Regions from separate parts of the Homo sapiens genome. Here regions 2, 3, 4, 5, 6 and 7 are each linked to region 1. The links are contacts of gene promoters, found by promoter capture Hi-C in blood cells and fetal thymus (Javierre and others, 2016). All regions are on one chromosome and are shown on one strand. The core of a region is centred on a gene start or on the middle of the fragment in contact, and the rest is flanking DNA. Distances in the headings are between cores, read along the strand shown.

Region 1 (2,770 bases), core at 121-2,620:
TTGAGTACCTGGTTGTGTCTTTTTCAGACAAGGTCTCGCTGTGTCAGCCAGGCTGGAGTGCAGTGGTCCGATCACAGCTCACTGCAGCCTCAACCTGCCAGGCTCAAGTGATCCTCCCACCACAGCCTTCAGAGTAGCTGGGATTATAGGCGTGAGCCACCATGCTCGGCTAATTTTTGTATTTTTTGTAGAGACAGGGTTTCCTTGCTTAGGTTAGTCTCAAATTCCTGGGATCAAGCAATCTGCCCGCTGCCTCAGCCTCCTGAAGTGCCCAGCCTGAAGACTTTTTTTGTTAGCCACGCTGGAATACAGTGTCGTGATCTCAGCTCACTGCAACCTCCACCTCCTGGGTTCAAGTGATTCTCCTGCCTCAGCCTCCCCAGTAGCTGCTGGTACACAGGTGTGCACCACCTCGTCCGGCTAATTTTTGTATTTTCAGTAGAGACGGGGTTTCACCATGTTGGCCAGACTGGTCTCGAACTCCTGACCTCAGGTGATCCGCCTGCCTCGGCCTCCCAAAGTGCTGGGATTACAGGCGTGAACCACTGCTCCCGGTCAGAGATCTTAATAAGAGGAATATTAGTGCTGATGGGGCATCAAATTGCTACAAGTGACTCTCAGGTGCCCAGAAGAGTGGGTTGGGTCCCTCTAGGCTTAGCTCCTGAAACCCAGCTCAGGAGTGAGATTCCCTCTCCTTCAGGGCTAGAAAGGTATACCACCTTTGTCATCAATCCATTCAAGGACTCGAGTGGCTCCTGACAGGTCGAATGCATAGAAATCCTGGTACCTGCACAAAAGGGACACAGAATCACACGATGCACAGCACTTCACAGCTCAAAGAACTCCAAGATGGCAGCCGCATGGTTCAGTGGCCCAAACTCTGGAGTCAGGCAGACGTGGGACTGAGTTTACTTCCCATTTTACTCCCTGTTTCTGGGACCAGGCCAGTCCCTTGATGTCCCTGAGCCTCGGTCCTCATGTGTGGACGTCCCAGGGTACCCAGATTTCCCAAGGTTGACGTGAGGAATCAATGAGATCATCTGTGTTCTGAGCTGAACTCAGAGGCTGGCGCAAACTAACTGGGCACTGCGTCTTCACAAGCGCGGCTCTTACTAGTAATCTCACAACGCGCGCACGCAGGAAGGAGCCATTTCCTAGAGATGGGGGCCTAGGCCCAGGCGGAGTCCTCCACGGTGGCGAGCCCCGAGGCCACAGCTGGCCCACTCTGCACCAGGATCCCCAACGTGCCTCCACCCACACCCATCCGCCCGCCAGGCAAGCTCCAGGCCCAGCTCCCATGTCCCAGCCCCGTACGATTTACAAGCGCAAGGATTCCACCAGCCAGTCGTCCCCAGGATCCATGGCAACGACCGCTTCCGGCGTCTCACTTCCGCCTGCGAGCCTTCGGGGGCCGCGCGGCTCTCGCGAGATGTGGGCAGGGCCTCCCGTTAGGGGCGGGGTTAACAGGCTGAGCTGCGGCCCGGCATGGGTGGGTTACGGGTTTTCTCCGCGAAAGCTCCGGGAAAAGTGACCTGAAATCGGGACTTTCCCGCTGTCAGCTCCAAGCAGGACCTGAGGACCAAATGATCGCCCGTTTTAGGGCCAGGTGTTTGCAGCCCAAGAGAGGGGCAATGAATGCTCCAAGGCCAGAAATAATACAGGACCGCCCGGTTAAATTCGAATTTCAGAAAAACGGTGAATAATTTCTTTCTTACGAGTATGTTCATGCAATATTTGGTACATTTTATTAGATAAAATTATTGTTTATCTGAAATTCGAATTTAACTGGGTGTCCAGTATTTTTATTTGCTAACGCTGGCAACCCTTCTGACGGCCAGAGAAGAGAGGAAGCGGCCGGCAGGGTCTGGATCCCAACTCGGCGCTCCCCTCCAAGTCCGGCGGGGGTATTGAGTAAAGCCCGGCAGTGTAGTGTCTGCAGCCCCCTTTTACTAGCGAGGAAACTAGTGACACTTGCCTGCGCCAGTAGGTGGCAGAGATGAGAGTAGAACCCCGCGCCTGGCACGAAGCCTGGCATGCAACAGGCGTTATTTGCTTGCTGAATGAATGGGTAGGAGGCCAGAGTCAGTGCCAGGCTGGTGCCATGGCATGGGGTATTCTGGACTTTTTGAGCCAGCCCCATCTCACTGAACACTCTGCCCTCCAGCCCCCTTTTCCTCCCATCCCCTAAAAGACGGGTGAAAGGAGAGGACCAGGCATTGTATGTAAAGAGCAAGGTTTTATTCACCAATTCAACAGGGAAGCAGGAAATACAGCAGGAACATAATCTGTGTCTGCATCAGCGATATTTCTGGTGACCCAGCCAGAAATCACAGTAATGGAGTAACAGAGATTTGAGCTCAGGATTTACATCCAGATGGGGCCATCAACAGGGTCCCATTCAGCACCTTCCCTGGGTGGGCACAATCTAAGCCACGCTGTTGTGTCTGCCCCATTATTGGTGTCATTTCTGCAGTATTTGTACCAGCAGCCTCCTGTACTGAAGAGAAACATACAGAAGAATTGAGCCAGGGAGGGGCTCCTGATAAAGATAGGGGCATCCTGCCATTCCTAAGTGCCAGATGTCTGCAGAGGTGGGCACCAGCAGGCTGTCAGCTGAGGCAGGCCCCAGAGCACCCTGAATTGCCTTGGAGGGGTCGGGGCAGTAGTTTTCTCAGAACACAGCCCCAACCACCCAGGGTGGTCATGACAGTCAAAGAAGATCGTGGAAGAAAATCCAAATACAGTGCTTGGTGCTGGGCTAGTGTCAGCG
Region 2 (2,974 bases), core at 49-2,548, 490 kb after region 1:
TAGCCTAAAGATATTTACACGTGGGAAATAATAGTCTACAAAATTATTTATTATTTACTACTTATATTAGTAAAAGACTGGAAACAAATTGTCTATCATTTAAGAAGAGTAAGTAAACAAGTTACAGGTATGACCATACAACAGAATACTATGCAACTGTAAAAAAGAATGAGGAGACTTATTTTCCAGATCCGCATGTAAGGAACTTGAAAGTCGCCACTTCATTCTAACAAGTAAAAAGCTAAACAGCCTGAAAAATCAACAGCTCTTCCTAGATCTGTAAGAAAGGTGAGGATACAAGTCAAACTGCTGCCCCTAAGATAGGAGAGACCAGCAGGCAAATACAGGAAATTATATCTTACTGGAGCAGAGATTCATGAGTGGAAACCACCATGGGAACCAGTGCCAGGGTAGAAGAACCTGTCAGTAATTGAAGAATTGGTGGAGGCTCAATGTGGACAGTCTAAGAATTAAAACTCCTGGGGAACCCAGTTATAAGGGGTGCCCCCCGCCTGCACTTTCGTGAATTTTACCTCCAAGAGCTTCACAGTTCTCACAGTAAATATAACAGGAAAATTCCCTCATACTTCCAGCAAAGAGAGGAGGAAAGCACTGTTTTGTTTATAGCAAAAACACTGCGAATGAATGAAAAGTGCTTTTGATGGGCTCATTAATAGGCTGGACATGAATTAGGAGTGAATCTCTCAGCTTGAAGACATGTCAAATAGAAACCTACAAAACTGAAAATTAAAGAGAATAGGACTGAGCAAAATATCCAAGGACTATGGAGCTAAAAAGTTGTAATATACATGTTATAAGAATAGCAGAGGGAAAATACAGAAAGAAAAGAACAGAAGAAATATTTGAGGCCAAATGTGGTGGCTCATGCCTGTAGTCCCAGGGCTTTGGGAGGCCAAGGTGGGAGGATCACTTGAGGCCAGGAGTTTGAGACCAGCCTGGGCAACATAGTGAGAGCCACACCCATTTTTAAAAAAAAGCCAGGCCGGGCACGGTGGCTCAGGTCTGTAATCCTATCACTTTGGGAGGTAGAGGCAGGTGGATCACCTGAGGTCAGGAGTTCGAGACCAGCCTGACCAACATGGAAAAACTCTGTCTCTACTAAAAGTACAAAATTAGCAGGGTGTGGTGACACATGCCTGTAATCCCAGCTACTCGAGAGGCTGAGGCAGGAGAATCGCTTGAACCCAGGAGGCAGAGGTTGTTGAACCAAGATTATGCCATTGCACTCCAGCCTGGGCAACAAGAGCGAAACTCTGTCTCAAAAAAAAAAAAAAAAAAAAAAAAACCCAAAAAATGAAAAACACATAGATTAAATGGATGGAGAAAATATACCACACTAACACTAATCAAAAGAAAGCAAGACCATCCTAGACAACATGGTGAAACCCTGTCTCTACTAAAAATACAAAAATTAGCTGGGCGTGGTGTTGCACACCTGTAGTCCCAGCTACTCAGGGGGACTAAGGCAGGAGAATCGCTTGAACCTGGGAGGCAGAGGTTGCAGTGAGCCAAGAACGCGCCACAGCACTCTAGCCTCATGACAGAGCGAGACTCTGTCTCAAAAAAAAAAAAAGAAAGGAGTAGTTACATTAATTGCAAACAGAGGAGACTTAAAAGCAAGGAAAGTTATCAAGGATAAAGAAGGTCATTAGATTATGATAAAGAGATCATTTCTCCAAGACATAATAATCCCTAACATGTATACACCAAACAACATAATATCAAACTACATGAGCCCCAAACTGATAGAACTGTAAGGAGAAAAGATTAATCCACTATTACACTGGGAGATTGCAACACTCTTTTATCAGAAGTAAACAGATTCAGCTGGCAGAAAATTTAGTAAGGACATAGTTGAATCCTACAACACTATCAGTCAACTGGATATAACTGACATCTATAGACTAGTTCAGCCAACAACAGCAGATTACCCTTTCTCCTCAACCCCACATGGAACATTCACCAAGACAGACCATATCCTGGGTTATAAAACACACTTTAACACATTTAAAAAAGGAAATTAGGCCAGGCGCAGTGGCTCACGCCTGTAAACCCAGCACTTTGGGAGGCCGAGGCGGGCAGATCACGAGGTCAGGAGATCAAAACCATCCTGGCTAACACGGTGAAACCCTGTCCCTACTAAAAATACAAAAAAATTAGCTGGGTGTGGTGGCGGGCACCTGTAATCCCAGCTACTTGGGAGGTTGAGGCAGGAGAATGGTGAGAACCCGGGAGGCAGAGCTTGCAGTGAGCCGAGATGGTGCCACTGCACTCCAGCCTGGGTGACAGAGTGAGACTCCGTCTCAAAAAAAAGAAAAGAAAACAAAAAACAAAAAAAACAAATTAGGCCAGGTGCAGTTGCTCATTCCTGTAATACCAGCACTTTGGGAAGCCAAGGTAGGAGGGTCAACTTGAGCCCAGGAGTTCAAGACCAGCTTGAGCAACATGGTGAGACCCTGTCTCTACAAAAAATTCTAAAAATGACTGGGTGTGGAGGTACACACCTGTGGTCCCAGCTACTTGGGAGGCTGAGGTAGTAGAATCACATGAGCCCAGGAGTTCGAGACTGTAAGAAGCCACGATTGCACCACTGCACACCAGCTTGGGTAACAGAGCAAAACCCTGTTTCCTAATTAATTAATTAAAAATAAAAATCAGACAGTATCTTCTCTCAGAAGACAATGGAATTAACCTGTAATCAATAACAGAAAGACAATTGGAAATATTCAAAATATGTGGAGATTAATGAACATACTTCTAGGGCCGGGCACCATGGCTCACATCTATAATCCCAGCACTTTGGGAGGCCGAGGCAGGAGGATCACCTGAGACCAGGAGTTCAAGACTAGCCTGAGAAACACAGTGGGACCCTGTCTCAGCAAAAAATACAAAAATTAGCCAGGCATGATGGCATGCATCTGTAGTCCCAGCTACTCAGGGGGCTGAGGTGAGA
Region 3 (2,860 bases), core at 86-2,585, 430 kb after region 1:
CTGTCCTCATCTCCCATCATGCCCTGCTTTGTTCTCTGTGCTCCAGCTGGCAGCCAAATTATGATGTCCATTATACAGGGAGATATAAAAATATAAAGGGAAAGGAAATGTGAGGCTAGAGAATTGGGAGAAATAGAGTCTTGTTCTTTCAGATACTAAAATGCACTAAAAAGCTGTAACAAGCAGGGGTGTTACTGCTAGATTGGTAAACTAGAATATAAAAACCAGAAACAGGCCGGGCACGGTGGCTCATGCCTGTAATCCCACCACTTTGGGAGACTGAGGCGGGCGGATCACAAGGTCAGGAGTTCGAGACAAGCCTGGCCAACATGGCGAAACCCTGTCTCTATTAAAAATACTAAAATTAGCCGGGCATGGTGGTGAGCACCTGTAATCCCAGCTACTCAGGAGGCTGAGACAGGAGAGGTTGCAGTGAGCTGAGATCGTGCCATTGCACTCCAGCCTGGGCAACAAGAGCAAGACTCTGTCTCAAAAAAAAAAAAAACAGACTTGGATATATTTAAGAATTTAGTAGATGATCGGCTGGGCAGGGTGGCTCACGCCTGTAATCTCTGCACTTTGGGAGGCTGAGGTTGGTGGATCACCTGAGGTCAGGAGTTCGAGACCAGCCTGGCCAACATGATGAAACCCCGTCTCTACTAAAAAAAATACAAAAAATTAGCTGGGCGTGGTGGCGCATGCCTGTCATCCCAGCTACTTGGGAGGCTGAGGCAGGATAATCACTGGAACCCGGGAGGCGAAGGTTGCAGTGAGCTGAGATCGAGCCACTGCACTCCAGCCTGGGCAACAAGAGCAAAACTCCATCTCAAAAAGTAAAAAAAAAAAAAAAAGAATTTAGCATATGATTACATGGCATTTTAAATCAACACGGGAAAAAGTGGACTTTTCAGTGACTAGAGTTGTGATAGTTGGTTGACTAGCTGGAAAGAAAGTTAAGCTACGTTCCAATCTCATGTCCTACCCGCAAAATGAACTCCAATGAATTAAAGACTTAAATGTGAAAAAGTAGGGCTACGTAAGTACTAAAAAATAAAAGTGGACATACATAATTGGATGACGAAGTCATTATAAACTAACACTTATAAAAGCCACATTTTATAAAGGAAGATAATCAGATTAGACAACATAAAAATGTTAAGCTTATCTACAGTTAAAATAAACCTTAAATAATGTTCAAAATTTAGACAAATGACTAACTGGGAAAAATATGTTTGTAACATATAGGACAGACATTAGGTTAATATCCTCATAAATACATGAAGAGCTTTGATTAATCAATTGAAAAATGATCAATTAAAAATTAGAAAAATATTAAAAGACATGTTCAAGTGGTTCACAAGAGATATTAATGGCCAATAAATGTGAAAAGATGTTCAACCTCACTAATAAAGACATGCAAATGATTTAACATTTTTTTATTTACCGTATCTGCGAAAGTTAAAAAAAAGTATGATAAAACCCAGTAGGGCTTCTCACAGATCCATCTCCGCCAAGCTTGTTATATTGGAGGTGAGAACTTCTTACTGTTTTTTGCTTTTTTTATTTTTTATTTTTTTATTTTTTGAGATAGAGTCTCACTCCGTTGCCCAGGCTGGAGTGCAGTGGCATGATCTCTGCTCACTGCAACCTTCACCTCCCAGGTTCAAGCGATTCTCCTGCCTCAGCCTCCCAAGTAGCTGGTATTACAGAGGTATGTGCCACCAGGTCTGGCTAATTTTTTGTTGTTATTGTATTTTTTAGTAGATACGGGGTTTCACCATTTTGGTCAGGCCGGTCTCAAACTCTGACTAGTGCTAGGATTACAGGTGTGAGCCACCATGCCCAGCATGTTTTTTGCTTTTTTTTTTTTTTTTAATAACAACTTTATTGAGCTATAAATTTACATATTATCTCCTGGTTTTTTTTACATGCTAAAAATGAGCTAATTTTTATTGGCTAAGCTATTGTCTTTAGTGAGACAGTTTAGTAATACCAGCAATAATGTAAAGGCATTGTTTTTTTTATTTACTTATTTAGAGACAGGGTCTCACTCTGTTGCCTGGGCTGGAGTGCAGTTGTGTGATCACTGCTCACTGCATCCTTGACCTCTTGGGCTCAAGCAGTCCTCCCACCTCAGCTTCTCAAGTAGCTAGGACTACAGATGTATACCACCAGGCCAGCTAATTTTTTATTTTTTGTAGAGACAGGGTTTTGCCATGTTGCCCAGCTGGTCTTGAACACCTGGACTCAAGCGATCTGCCTACTTCTGCCTCCCAGAGTGCTGGCATTACAGGTGTGATCCACCGTGCCTGGCCAGCATTGTTATTTTTAGAGTTTACTTAGTAGTATCTCTGCACTTTATAAGCAGGCAGTTTTCTTTTTTTTCATCTTCTGAGGCCAGAGAATCTTAAAATCATTCTTTGGGAGATTACTTATACAAGGAAAAAACCTGGAAGCAACCTAAATGTCTAGTGATAGGGGATTTATTGAATAAATCATAATATAATCTTAGAATATTATATAGTTATTTAAAGTGATGATAAAGAATGAAAATTATTGATATGGAAAGATTAATGTATAGTGTGCCAGTGAGAAAAGCAGATTATAAAACTGTAGAGTATGATCTTGTTTTTGTATGCATATTACATATGCATTTGTACAAGTTAATGCCTAGAACATTTTTCAATGCTTATTGAAAATAATTAGATTTTTTTCTATAAAATAGAATGTTGAGACGTCTGGGTATTGGGATTTCAGGTTATTTGATCTTATTATTTTTAAACAGCCTTATTAAGGTATAGTCAAAGGATTTTAGTATATTCATAGAGTTGTGCTTCAGTCATCACAATTTTAGAACATT
Region 4 (3,036 bases), core at 243-2,742, 340 kb after region 1:
ACATGTACGAGAATTTTCAGAGCAGCATTACTTTTAATTCCAAACTTTCCTGTAAAACCCAAATGTCCATTAACAACATAATGGATAAAAAAGTTATGATATGTTCAAAGAAAGGAATACTTCACAGCTGTGAAAAATGGATTATAGTTTTAGATATTAACTTTGATAAATCTCAGTGGAGAGAAAGAAGAAGCCATCAAAAAATCTGTAAGTTATGATTCTTTTTATTTAAAGATTGATAGGCTGGGAGTGGTGGCTCACACCTGTAATCCCAGCACTTTGGGAGGCCGAGGCAGGAGGATTACTTGAGGCCAGGAGTTTGAGATCAGCCTGGACAACATAGCAAGACCCCATCTCTAACAACAAAAAAAAGATTAATAGCTAAACAATATATAGTAATACACACATAGGTGTTAAAACTTACCATAAAATCAGTTCAGGCAAATAAAGTTTATTTTAAGGACTTAAATGTTTAGCATGTTAATTTGAGTGCCTAATATAGAGGCTGTAGGAGGATAACAGGCCCTGCTCTCAGGGAACAATTAGTCCTTTCTGGAAAGGTGGGGTAGGTCTCTGACCTGGAAGTGATGATGGCACCTTGGGGGATGGATTGTGGAGGCAAGAGCTTGGTCTGGATTGGTCATAAGGTATAGAAAGAGGAAAGGAGGGAGAGGTTTGACCTGGGCTTAAAAGACTGGGAGGATGTGGATAAGTGGAAAATATATCTCTGGATAAGGGGAAGGAAGGGTACGGGGGTTGGGTGCATGTTCCAATTATGAGGAGGCTGACCAGAGATAGGACGGGAGGTCTAAAAGCCAGGTTGAGGAGTTTGAAGTCCATCCTATAAACCTCAGAGAACTCCCAAAGGCATTTCATTTTCAGCGGGGTAGTCAAAGGATAAACATGTTTCATGAAGATTAGGTTTCAGGCAAAAATTGCAGTAGGTGGGGTGAGGGACAGCTAGAGGTGGGGCACTATGCAGGACCTATTGCAGTGGTTCAGGCACAAGGTATGACCAGGTATGACTAACTTAGTGCAGTAGTTTGGGAGAGGAGGGAATGAGAGAAGGAAAAACTGACTAGTGACAAATTGGACTTGGTGAGTGAAAGGGCGGAGAGTGGAGGGTGACTCAGAGGTTGGGGTTTACCAGCTTAGAAGGACTGTGATAACATGCCACAATTTGTACAGTGCTTTATGGTTTACCAAATGCTATTTTTGTACCTCATCTCATTTGATGTTCCCCAAACCATGGGGAGGTGGAAAGGAGGGATTTTATTTTCCCTGTTTAAGGCCTAAAGAAGCAGAAATTCAGAGATTGAATGACTTGTTCAAGTTTGTGGTGACCACTTACAGAAACAGGTTCACTGTAATAGCATAAGGGAGAAGTCACAGGAAAGCGAATTTAGGGAGTTTTTAAAAAACCTTTCTTGTCTTTTGGTTCTGAGTTCATCTTATAAAAATAAACTTTTACTTTTCCTGATTGTAAAAGTCATATTCATTGTAGAAAACTTGAAACATATAGAAAAGAACAAGGATCGGCTGGGCGTGGTGGCTCATGCCTGTAATCCCAGCACTTTGGGAGGCCAAGGCGGGCGGATCACAAGGTCAGGAGATCAAGACCATCCTGGCTAACACGGTGAAACCCCGTCTCTTCTAAAAATACAAAAAATTAGCCGGGTGTGGTGGCAGGTGCCTGTAGTCCCAGCTACTTGGGAGGCTGAGGCAGGAGAATGGCATGAACCCAGGAGGCAGAGTTTGTAGTGAGCCGAAATCGCGCCACTGCAGTCCAGCCTGGGCGACAGAGCGAGACTCCATCTCAAAAAAAAAAAAAAAAAAAAAAAGAACAAGGATCACTTAAATTGTACAATCACTTAAATTGCACAGTCAGGAGATAATGTCTCTTAAAATGGTGGTGTGTTTCCTTCCATCCATGTAGATTGCTTTAAATAACTATAATTAAAAACTTTTTTGGGCTGGGCGTAGTGGCTCATGCCTGTAAATCCCAGCACTTTTGGGAGGACAAGATGGGAGAATCACGTGAGGCCAGGAGTTTGAGAACAGCTTGGGAAACATAGTAAGACCCCCATTCTCTATAAAAAAAAATAATAATAAATAAATTAGCTGGGCATGGTGGTGCACACCTGTAATCCCAGCTACTTAGACTGAGGTGGGAGGATTGCTTGAGGCTGGGAGTTTGAGGTTGCAGTGAGCTATGATTGTGCCACTGCACTCCAACCTGGGTGACAGAGTGAGACCCTGTCTCTTAAAAAGCAAAAAACAAAAATATTTTTTAAGCAGTTTTGTTTTTTAGTTCTAGGAAACATTTAACTATTATTTATTTAAATGTTGTCCCCTTAAGTTTTCTCATTTTCTCTTCTGCAGCTCCCTCCAAAAGATAGATTGAGACGCATCTTGATCTGTCCTCCGTGTCTCTTCACTTTTCTTTTACTTCCCCTCTCTGTGCTATCTTCTGGGAGGATTTTTTAGCTCAATATTTTAAGTCACGAATTCATTCCTCAAGGTCTACTCAGCTCTTTAGCCCACTGAGTTTTTAAATTTGAGTTTTTGTCTTCAGTCTATGGTTTGCTCTTTTTTCTTAATTGCTTATTCATGTTTTATGGTTGCAGCATACTTCCTTATCTCTTTGAGGATATTAATTACACTCACTTTAAAGTCCTATTCTGATTGCTGTATTAAAAACACTTTTTATTGAGTTATAAATGTAATCAGCCAAGGTGTACAAAATCCCTAAGTGTACAGCTTGATGAATTTTCCTCATGCTCCCATGTAATCACCAGCCAAATCAAGACAGAACATTTCCAGCATTCCAGAAGGCTGCCTTGTGGCTGTTTACTGTTTTTTAGTATTTTTAACATTTTATGAAAAATCTCAAAATACAGCAATCTTGAAGGATTTTTCACAGGGTACCCCTGTGTACCCAATGCCTGTATTTTACATTAGCATTTTACTGTACTTGCTTTATCACATATATCCATGTATCCATTCTTCTACCTATCATACTCCTTTTTCTTTGAT
Region 5 (2,796 bases), core at 163-2,662, 360 kb after region 1:
GTGTGGTGGTGGGCACCTGTAATCCCAGCTACTAGGGAGGCTGAGGCAGGGGAATTATTTGAACCTGGGAGACAGAGGTTGCAGTGAGCCGAGATCGCGCCATTGCACTCCAGCCTGAGCAACAGGAGCGAAACTCCGTCTCAAAAAAAAAAAAGCAATAGTGGGAGGAAATTATGTGGAGAAAGTTTTTGTGTTTTTTGCTTCTTTTCAAAGTATGGATGAGATATGCCCAGGATGGTGGTGGTAGATATTGTGATTATTTCTACTCTCAATTCTGTAGTTATAATATCCAGAATAAGTATGGTTTGATGAGCGTTTCAAAACAACCACTTTGGCTATCAAGTGAAAAGTAGATTGTAGAGCAACAGAAGTGGCAGTAGGCTAACTACAGGACTTTTGCAGCTCTTCAGAGAAGTAGTTTGGATTTCATGGTAGCAGTAGATGTAGAGGGATATAGGCAAACTTGGGATATATTTTGGAAGTAGAGTCTGTAGTGGTACTAATTAAAATAGTCATGTAGATAAACTGTTTCTTACTGTTTCAGGACAAGATGAGTCTATGCCAGATGTAAGTCACCACACTCATTTACTGATTTCTTCCTTGAGGATTTTTTGTTGTTAAAAAATTTTTGTGGTTGATCTGCATTCTGTCTTAAACTCTTTATTTCATTGTGGATTATTAACAGTTGGTCCACGGGCCACACTTTAAGCAACGTCAATCTCTAGTATCCATCTTAGGGGCAAACCATGATCTATTTAACCAGTCTCTTACTATTGGGTAGATGGTTAACCCTCACATCATCTTTTTTTTAGTATTAGGAATAAGTAACATTGCCATGAAATGCTTGTTTCTATAATTATGTGTATATATCTTATGCTTTCTTTAGGATAATTCCTGGAAATAGAGTAAGGATTTTGGAACATAATGACAAATTGTTCTCCATTTTACACACTTGCAGAGCCACATTTTTACCAGTATGAATTCTTTTTTCAAAAAAATCTTTGCTAATTTGGATGACAAATAGCAAGTTGTTATATGAATATGTACTTATTTGATTACTAGTAAGAATATTTTAAATGTATTTTTTGGAATTGATACATCCACCTTTGCCATTTTTAATGCTCTTGGATCATTTTTACTTTGGGGTGTAAGTACCATTTACATTAAGGTTATTTACTCTTTGTATAATGAAAATATTTTTCCTCTGTTTTAAAAATGGATTTTGGTATTTTTGCATCATGTAGAAATTGTCCTTTTTTATAGACTCTCCTAGCAGTATAGTTACTTGGGAGGTGTAGTTGGTCAAGCCTTGCTGCCTCCCTGCTTCCATCTCTAAAGAGGTTGCCCTTTGGTGGTAAGGGCAGTTCACTATTGTGAACTTGCTGGGGTAAAAGGTTTTGGTGTGAGGAACTTAGGAGTTAAAAACTCTTCTGTAAGGGAAATGTATATGAGTGATGGATGATATTAAGAGGTTATTTTTAAATTTTGTTAGGTGTGAAAATGGAATTGTGGTTGAGTAGAAAAATCTGCATACACACATAGATGTATTTAGGGGTGAAAAATGTGAGGGATTTTCTTGAAAATACTACAGTCAAAAAGATAGACATAGCAAATGTATCAACATTTAAAAAATTTTTGATTTGAGTGATGGGTTTATGAGTGTTCTTAACACTTTTAAAATTTTATTTTAAAGAAATGGGGTCTCGCTGTGTTGCCCAGGCTGGACTAGAACTCCTGGGCTCAAACGATCCACGTATGTCAGCCCCTACCGAATAGCTGGCATTACAGGAGCACTGTGCTTGGCTTCTTAATACTATTCATTATTTTTGTGGGGTTTTTTTTGTTTTGTTTTGGAGTCAGAGTTTCGCTCTTGTCACCCAGGCTGGTGTGCAATGGCATGATCTTGGCTCTGCAACCTCTACCTCCCAGGTTCAAGTGATCCTCCTGCCTCAGCCTCCCAAGTAGCTGGGACTACAGGCACCCACCACCACACCTGGCTAATTTTTGTATTTTTAGTAGAGACGAGGTTTCACTATGTTGGCCAGGCTGGTCTCAAACTCCTGACCTCAAGTGATCTGCCCACCTTGGCCTCACAAAGTGCTGGAATTACAGGCATATGAGCCACTATGCGTGGCCAGTGTGTATGTTTCGAAAAGGCTCTTGGGTCTCTGGAGAACTTTGGGGGAGTTTTTTTTTGGTTTTTTTTTTTTTTTTTTTTTTTTTTTGGCTTCCTGTGACTAGGATTCTCTTCTTAGTCTCTCTTCTGGCACTTTGCAGGCCGGGTGGTTGGTGATCTACATTACAAATGGAGCCACCAGTAAAGTCAGAAATGAGTCAAAGAAGGAGGTTTATGGTTGCCCCTTTATTTAAATGATCATGGTCATTGGCAAATAATAGGTATTCTTTCTTAGGCACAAGATTACTAATCTTCTCAATTCTCTGTCTGTGTTTATTTTTTATGTGATCTGTCTGCCAAAGAAGGAGAGTAGTGTTTTGAAGTCCTTCAGTCACAGTTGTGGTTTTGGCGAGTTTTTCCTCATACTTCTCACAGCTCTGGGCATTAAGAAAACAACAAGGGCCCGGCGCAGTGGCTCATGCCTGTAATCCCAGCACTTTGGGAAGCCAAGGCGGGTGGATTACCTGAGGTCAGGAGTTTGAGACCAGCCTGGCCAACACGGCGAAACCCTGTCTCTACTAAAAATACAAAAGTTAGCCGGGCATGGTGGCGCGTGCCTGTAATCCCAGCTACTTGGCAGGCTGAGGCACGGGAAGTGCTTGAACACGGGAGGTGGAGGT
Region 6 (2,936 bases), core at 375-2,874, 390 kb after region 1:
CTCATTTAATCTTCACAATCACTATTTTCCAAGTGAAGCTTAGCAAAGTGAAGAAACTCACAGTTTTTCAGAAAGGGTCACAGTTCAAACCCCATATCTGTCTAACCTCCAGAATACGGGTTATGGGAACTGTGGGTGATTCTAGATAATTCGATTGTGTGGATTGTCATTCTCATTGTAATCTCCTTAAATCTCATTAAAGCTCATTAGCCAACCCAATAAAACCTAGGCTGGCCTTTGCAGTCAGGATGCTAGTAGTGATCAGGTATGCAGGCAAACAGCTGTAGAACCTCCAGACAAGGCTCTCTGTCTGAATATACAGTGTGTTACAGAAACATGATTGACAAATGTAAATATTCCTGAAATAGATTCATCTGAGAGAGAGGCATGCTGCTAATTTGTTAATCAATTGATTTGGTATCCATATCACCCATGCCTGCTGAATTCAGTTTTTCTTTAGAAGGGAGTTAAATAAATAGCACTGAGTTCTCAACCTTTGGCTCCCTGCTCCCTGGGGCAGCCTGTAGACCCCCCTTTTCATTCTGACAGATGAATAGGCAAGTGATCAGTTTTGTCTTTTGGGAGGGTGGAGGGAAGAGGTAGATTCTAGTCTGGCCTCCATGATTTTATACCTCAGATTGCCACATTGGATTTGAGGATCCTCAGATCTCAGTGACATGTTTGAAGAAGATCTCGGATTGGGTTATCTCTCCTATAGTTGACTATTCTCATTTTTCTATGGGTTAATTCTTACTAGTTTTACTTTCAAAGGTAATTTTAACATTTCGGGAAAACTTACATTTGTCCCCTGTATTTAATACGTTAATACGATATTTAAGAACTAGATCCTACTTTGTACAGTATTTCAAGGTATCATGAAATTAATGGTTTTTTGTTTGTTTGTTTGTTTGTTTGTTTGTTTTTTTGAGGCAGGGTCTTACTCTGTCGCCCAGGCTGGAGTGCAGTCGTGTGATCTTGGCACACTGCAACCTCTGCCTCCCGGGTTCAGGTGATTCTCCTGCCTCAGCCTCCTGAGTAGCTGGGACTACAGGTGCCCACCACCACGCCAAGCTAATTTTTGGTATTTTTAGTAGAGACAGGGTTTCACCATATTGGCCAGGCTGGTCTCGAACTCCTGACCTTGTGATCCACCCACCTTGGCCTCCCAAAGTGCTGGGATTACAGGCGTGAGGCACCACACCCAGCCAGTGTGTTCTGAAAGAAATAGTGCTTTGGAAAAATACAGTTTAAAAAAATGCCTTGTAATATGTATGTGCATTATAGAATTATAATTTCATAGCAAAAGCTTCTTGGAAAATATTTGCTGTAGATATTTAGAATTTATTGGGCATTTACTCATTGTCAGGCATTGTGGTAACTACTTGAAATAGCTTATTTAATCTGGATATCATTTTTTGCCCAACACTACGGGTTTGGGAAAAAAGGATGTGCATGATTTCACCCCAGTATATAACTAGAATTTGCAATCAGTCAGGGTAACATACACAAGGTTCACAGTAAATATTTACTGTTTAAATCGACTGATGGGAAAATCAGGAACAGGTAGGGGGAGGAAAGAGACTATGACAGTGGGGGACAGATAAAGAGTCTGGGAGAAGAACCAGGGAAAGCAGCTGAGAACTTTGCCTCAAGAGTAGACCTTGGTGCCATCTTGTGGGTGGATCTGGAAAGGACCAAGCAGATGCACATCAGTTGCTACTAAGATGCCTTGCAGAGCCCCAAATTTCCATGCCACAATGATAGAAAACTGCAAATCAGATAATCAGAACTCTGGTCTAGGAATCAGTGGATCTTAGTGATGGAATCAGTGTCCTGTCCATCAGCAAGTCCTGATCACTCTCTCCAAAACACATCCTAAATCTGTTTATCTCTGTGGCCGGCCCCAGGCCAAGCCACCATCTTCTCTTGTTTGGACTACTGCAGAAGCTTCCTTATTGGCCTTGCCTCTACTCTCATCCTCCCGTAGTTCATTCTCCATTGGCAGCCAAAGACATCTTTTTTAGAAAGAAGAATCAGATTATGTCACTTCTTTGTATAAAACCTTTAAGCGGCTTTTCATGAAATTTAGAATAAAATTCAAATGTCTTGTCCTGCCTTAGAAAACTCTGCATCGTATGACCCCTGCTTAGCTGTAACTTCATCTCATGACCTTCTTTGTATGGCCCCTGCTTAGCTGTAACCTCATCTCTTGACCTTCTTCCTCTTTGTTTCCTCCAGTGTCCCACCTTATTTCCACTGTAGGTCCTGTGCACTAGCTGTTCCTCTGCCTGGTACTCCTTCCTCCACCTCTTGCATGGTTGGCTACTTCCTGTCATTCAGATCTCACCTCCTGCATTGCTGCCTCAGAGGGGCCTTCCTTGACTCTGATTCAGTTACTCTCCATCACATCTTTCCCTGTTGTTAATCAGAGATATTGTCTGTCTTGCTGTCTATTGAATCCTCAATGCCTAGGAGACCATTTGGCACATAGTGGATGTTCAGTAAAGATCTGTCAGAAGGATAAATGCTGTTTTCCAGTTTCTTGATCTTTTTCCAGCTAGATACAGATTACGGCCAGGTTATTTTAGACTTTTCCTAATAGAGCATGAAAAGATCACAGGAATTAAATTCAGACAGAACTGGGTCCCATTCCTGCAACTACTGCTTACCAACTATTTGACCATACTTCTCTGAGTGTCAGCTTCTTCATCAATAAAATGGAGTTAATGAGCTTACCTTGCTCATAAGGTAAGAACTAAATTGGACTTAAATATGATTGGATCCAAAGTATTTACGTGTTAGATACTTTTTTCTATTAAAACTGACTGGACCATGTTGTTATTTGCATTTTCCTCTCCTGCTACCCAAGGGACAGGATTAGGTTCTTTGTACTCCTAGTATCTAGCACTGCACTTGTCTTACAGTAATAGGTGGTC
Region 7 (2,753 bases), core at 21-2,520, 320 kb after region 1:
CAAAGATGTATTACACCAAGTAGCAAAGAGTTCAAATGTTGGATGGTTCTAGGGTTGGTGAATTTCAGCAGCTCTGTGATTACACTTGGGACAGGGACGCAAGTTCTTTCCATCTTTCCATTCTGCCATCCCCAGGTGCTAGCAGCTTTGCTCATGGATGGCTGAAACAGCTCCAGGTATTGCTTTCTCACCCAGTCATTCCAGAGGCAGAAAATGGTTAGGTATCTTTCTCGAGTCTCTTTTTTAGAAGGAAGGAGACTTTCTCAGAAGCCCCTCTCCACACCATCCTCCAAGACCACCCCATACATCTCATTGGCCATGGTTGCGTCACATGCCCGTGACTAACCAATCTCTCACATGTGGAAAGGAGTGACCACAGTTGGTTGAAACCAATCAACCTTGACCCTTTGTGCATGGGAAGGGTCTATACAGGACAGGAAGAAAAGTGGGAAGTAGGTGAGGGGGGAATAGATGTTGGTTGGACAGAAAACGAACTGTGTCTTTTACGGCTCAGCTCCTCCCCTCACAGATGGGGACCTGAGCTTGAGCGAGATTTCCTCAAGTCAAGTGCCACAGGACTTGGTGGCAGTCGGGGGTAAATTTGGTTCTCACCTTTTGCTTATGGCCTAGAGCAACTCGAGCATGGAACTAAGAATCTGATTCTCTGTGAAAACTTTCCCTTCTAAAATCATCTTAAGGGTCGGGCACAATGGCTCACATCTATAATCCCAACACTTTGGGAGGCAGAGGCAGGAGGATTGCTTGAACCCAGGAGTTTTAGACCAGCCTGAGCAACATGGTGAGACCTCATATCTACAAAAAAAAACAAAAACAAAAAACAAAACAAAACAAAAAAATATAAAATCACCTTAAGTCCATGGCCAGTCTGAGATGTAATTTTCAGAGCTGACTCAAGCCTTTGACGTCTGTTATGCCTCCAGCCCCAGTGGAATGCCAATGAGAAGTTCAAGGGCACAGTGGGCAAGTGCTCTCCTGGCCGGCTGCAGGTTCAAATGCCATCACTGCCTTATCTGCTGTTTGTTGATCTCAGCGAACTATTCTGGCAGCAGCTGGCAGTGATACCATCTGCAAATGACAGTAGCAACCCCTATCAGGCATCCCTGTCAATGAGACTGTATCAGTCAGTGGCCAGCCAGGAAAATGGAAACCACAGAGATATTTCAAGTTTTAATGAAGAGGATTGGTTACAAAGCTGTTGAAAGGGCTAGAGAACAAAAATATGATAAGGGGTGCCATAGTCTGAATGTTTGTCCCCCTCAAACCTCATGTCAAAATTTGATCCCCAGTGTTGGAGGTGGGACTGAAAAGGAGGTGTTTTAGTCACAGGGAAAGATCCCTCATGAATGTGTTGGTGCCATCCTCATCCTCAATGAGCGAGCTCTTGCTTTATTAGAGTGTTCTCACAAGAGCTGGTTAAAAAGAGCCTGGTCCATCCCCATCTCTTTTACTCCCTCTCTCACCATGTGATCTGCACACACCGGTTCTCCTTCCCCTTCCACCATGAGAGGAAGCAGCCTGTGGCCCTCACCAGAACCAGATGCTGGTGCCATGCTTCTTGTACAGCCTGCAGAATGTACACCAAATATACCCCACCCCTCCCCTCCCCTCCCTTGTTCTTCTCTTTTCTTTTTGACAGGGTGTCACTCTGTCACCCAGGCTGGAGTACACTGGCACGATCTCAGCTCACTGCAACCTCCACCTCCCAGGCTCAAGCGATCCTCCCACTTCAGCCCCTCAAGTAGCTGGGACGCCAGGCACGTGCCTCCATACCCGGCTAATTTTTGTATTTTTATAGAGACGGGGTTTCATCATGTTGCCCAGGCTGGTGTCGAACTTCTGGGCTCAAAATCATCCCGCCTCAGCTTCCCAAAGTGCTGGGATTACAGGCATGAGCCACCACACCCAGCCCTCTTTTCTTTATAAATTAGCCAGCTTCAGGTATTCTTTTACAGCAATACAAATGGACTAAGACATGGATGTTTCCCAGGGATTAGGAAGCTGCTTTATTCCAGGCACCCATACATGTCATTGCTGAGCTGCTAGAGGGGCTGCCCCCACCCTACACAATAATCCAGCCCCTAATCCAGCCAGAACCACTGGCACTGCCAGAGCCAGAATGGCTTTTCCCTTCCTCCAGCCTTCTCATCTCTTCAGTACTTCCACTGGCCAGACCCAATTAAAAACCAATTGGTTGGAGGAAAGGGATGGAAAGAAATGGATTGAGGCCCCAACAGATCATATGTGGAACAGAAACATGTGAGATGATGATCAATAGCATAGATTTCAGACTCAGAGAGGCCTGGGTTTGGGTCTTCACCCTGTGACCATGGGCAAGTCACCTCCCTGGTGTAAGACCTAGTTTACTCATCTATAAAATAGGAATGATGATATACCCATTTCAGAGTATTGTTGTAAAGGCTCAAGAAGAAAATTATTATAAAGGACTTTAGCAGTGTCCAGCATCTTAGAAGGGGCTAAACAAATGTCAGCTGCAATTGTGTTCATTACCATCTTCATCATTATCATCATCACCTTCACAATAATCTCAATACTTCTAGCCACAGCCTTTGCAACAAGCTCCTAGGCCCCCTTGCATCAGGGTCCCACTGTACCCTTCTAGGGGTAGCCAGGGCTTTCAAAGAACTTTTACTAAGACTCCTTTGGACTTTCAAGACATTCTCCAATTTCCACGGAGCTACATTGGTAGCTATGCTTCTATTCTCCCAACTGAG

Evidence for each region. The method cuts DNA at HindIII sites, captures the fragments that hold promoters and counts their contacts. A CHiCAGO score of 5 or more calls a contact.
Region 2: a fragment that was not itself captured here is called in contact with the fragment with the promoter of WDR73 in region 1 in 1 of 17 cell types (fetal thymus); the score reaches 5.5 in fetal thymus.
Region 3: a contact is called between a fragment that was not itself captured here and the fragment with the promoter of WDR73 in region 1, in 1 of 17 cell types (M1 macrophages). The highest score is 5.2, in M1 macrophages.
Region 4: a fragment that was not itself captured here is called in contact with the fragment with the promoter of WDR73 in region 1 in 1 of 17 cell types (naive CD4 T cells); the score reaches 5.6 in naive CD4 T cells.
Region 5: a fragment that was not itself captured here is called in contact with the fragment with the promoter of WDR73 in region 1 in 3 of 17 cell types (naive CD4 T cells, naive B cells and total CD4 T cells); the score reaches 8.5 in naive CD4 T cells.
Region 6: a fragment that was not itself captured here is called in contact with the fragment with the promoter of WDR73 in region 1 in 11 of 17 cell types (total B cells, naive CD4 T cells, naive CD8 T cells and 8 more); the score reaches 11.5 in total B cells.
Region 7: a fragment that was not itself captured here is called in contact with the fragment with the promoter of WDR73 in region 1 in 11 of 17 cell types (naive CD4 T cells, fetal thymus, neutrophils and 8 more); the score reaches 9.3 in naive CD4 T cells.

The regions. Positions count from the first base shown.
Region 1 is chr15:84,652,913-84,655,682 of GRCh38, forward strand. It overlaps WDR73 (WD repeat domain 73), which reads right to left and starts at 1,371. Exons shown (of 8, transcript NM_032856.5): 1 at 1,322-1,371; 2 at 720-787. The coding sequence starts at 1,362. NMB (neuromedin B) reads right to left here. Exons shown (of 3, transcript NM_021077.4): 3 at 2,220-2,497. The coding sequence ends at 2,462. RefSeq lists enhancers at 724-1,691, 1,118-1,357. The HindIII fragment of the contact is 10,475 bases long and covers 1-2,770 here.
Region 2 is chr15:85,144,300-85,147,273 of GRCh38, forward strand. No RefSeq gene overlaps it. Among named protein-coding and RNA genes, the nearest start is that of PDE8A, 160 kb to the left of the region's middle. The HindIII fragment of the contact is 3,940 bases long and covers 1-2,974 here.
Region 3 is chr15:85,085,185-85,088,044 of GRCh38, forward strand. All of the region lies in intron 6 of PDE8A (phosphodiesterase 8A), which reads left to right. Among named protein-coding and RNA genes, the nearest start is that of PDE8A, 100 kb to the left of the region's middle. The HindIII fragment of the contact is 355 bases long and covers 1,159-1,513 here.
Region 4 is chr15:84,991,625-84,994,660 of GRCh38, forward strand. All of the region lies in intron 1 of PDE8A (phosphodiesterase 8A), which reads left to right. Among named protein-coding and RNA genes, the nearest start is that of PDE8A, 11 kb to the left of the region's middle. RefSeq lists a silencer at 974-1,268. The HindIII fragment of the contact is 8,126 bases long and covers 1-3,036 here.
Region 5 is chr15:85,017,746-85,020,541 of GRCh38, forward strand. The region is part of intron 1 of PDE8A (phosphodiesterase 8A); the gene reads left to right. Among named protein-coding and RNA genes, the nearest start is that of PDE8A, 37 kb to the left of the region's middle. The HindIII fragment of the contact is 5,799 bases long and covers 1-2,796 here.
Region 6 is chr15:85,042,790-85,045,725 of GRCh38, forward strand. The region is part of intron 1 of PDE8A (phosphodiesterase 8A); the gene reads left to right. Among named protein-coding and RNA genes, the nearest start is that of PDE8A, 62 kb to the left of the region's middle. RefSeq lists an enhancer at 1,668-1,747. The HindIII fragment of the contact is 641 bases long and covers 1,305-1,945 here.
Region 7 is chr15:84,970,018-84,972,770 of GRCh38, forward strand. It overlaps a transcript of SLC28A1 not described here. Among named protein-coding and RNA genes, the nearest start is that of PDE8A, 10 kb to the right of the region's middle. The HindIII fragment of the contact is 6,079 bases long and covers 1-2,753 here.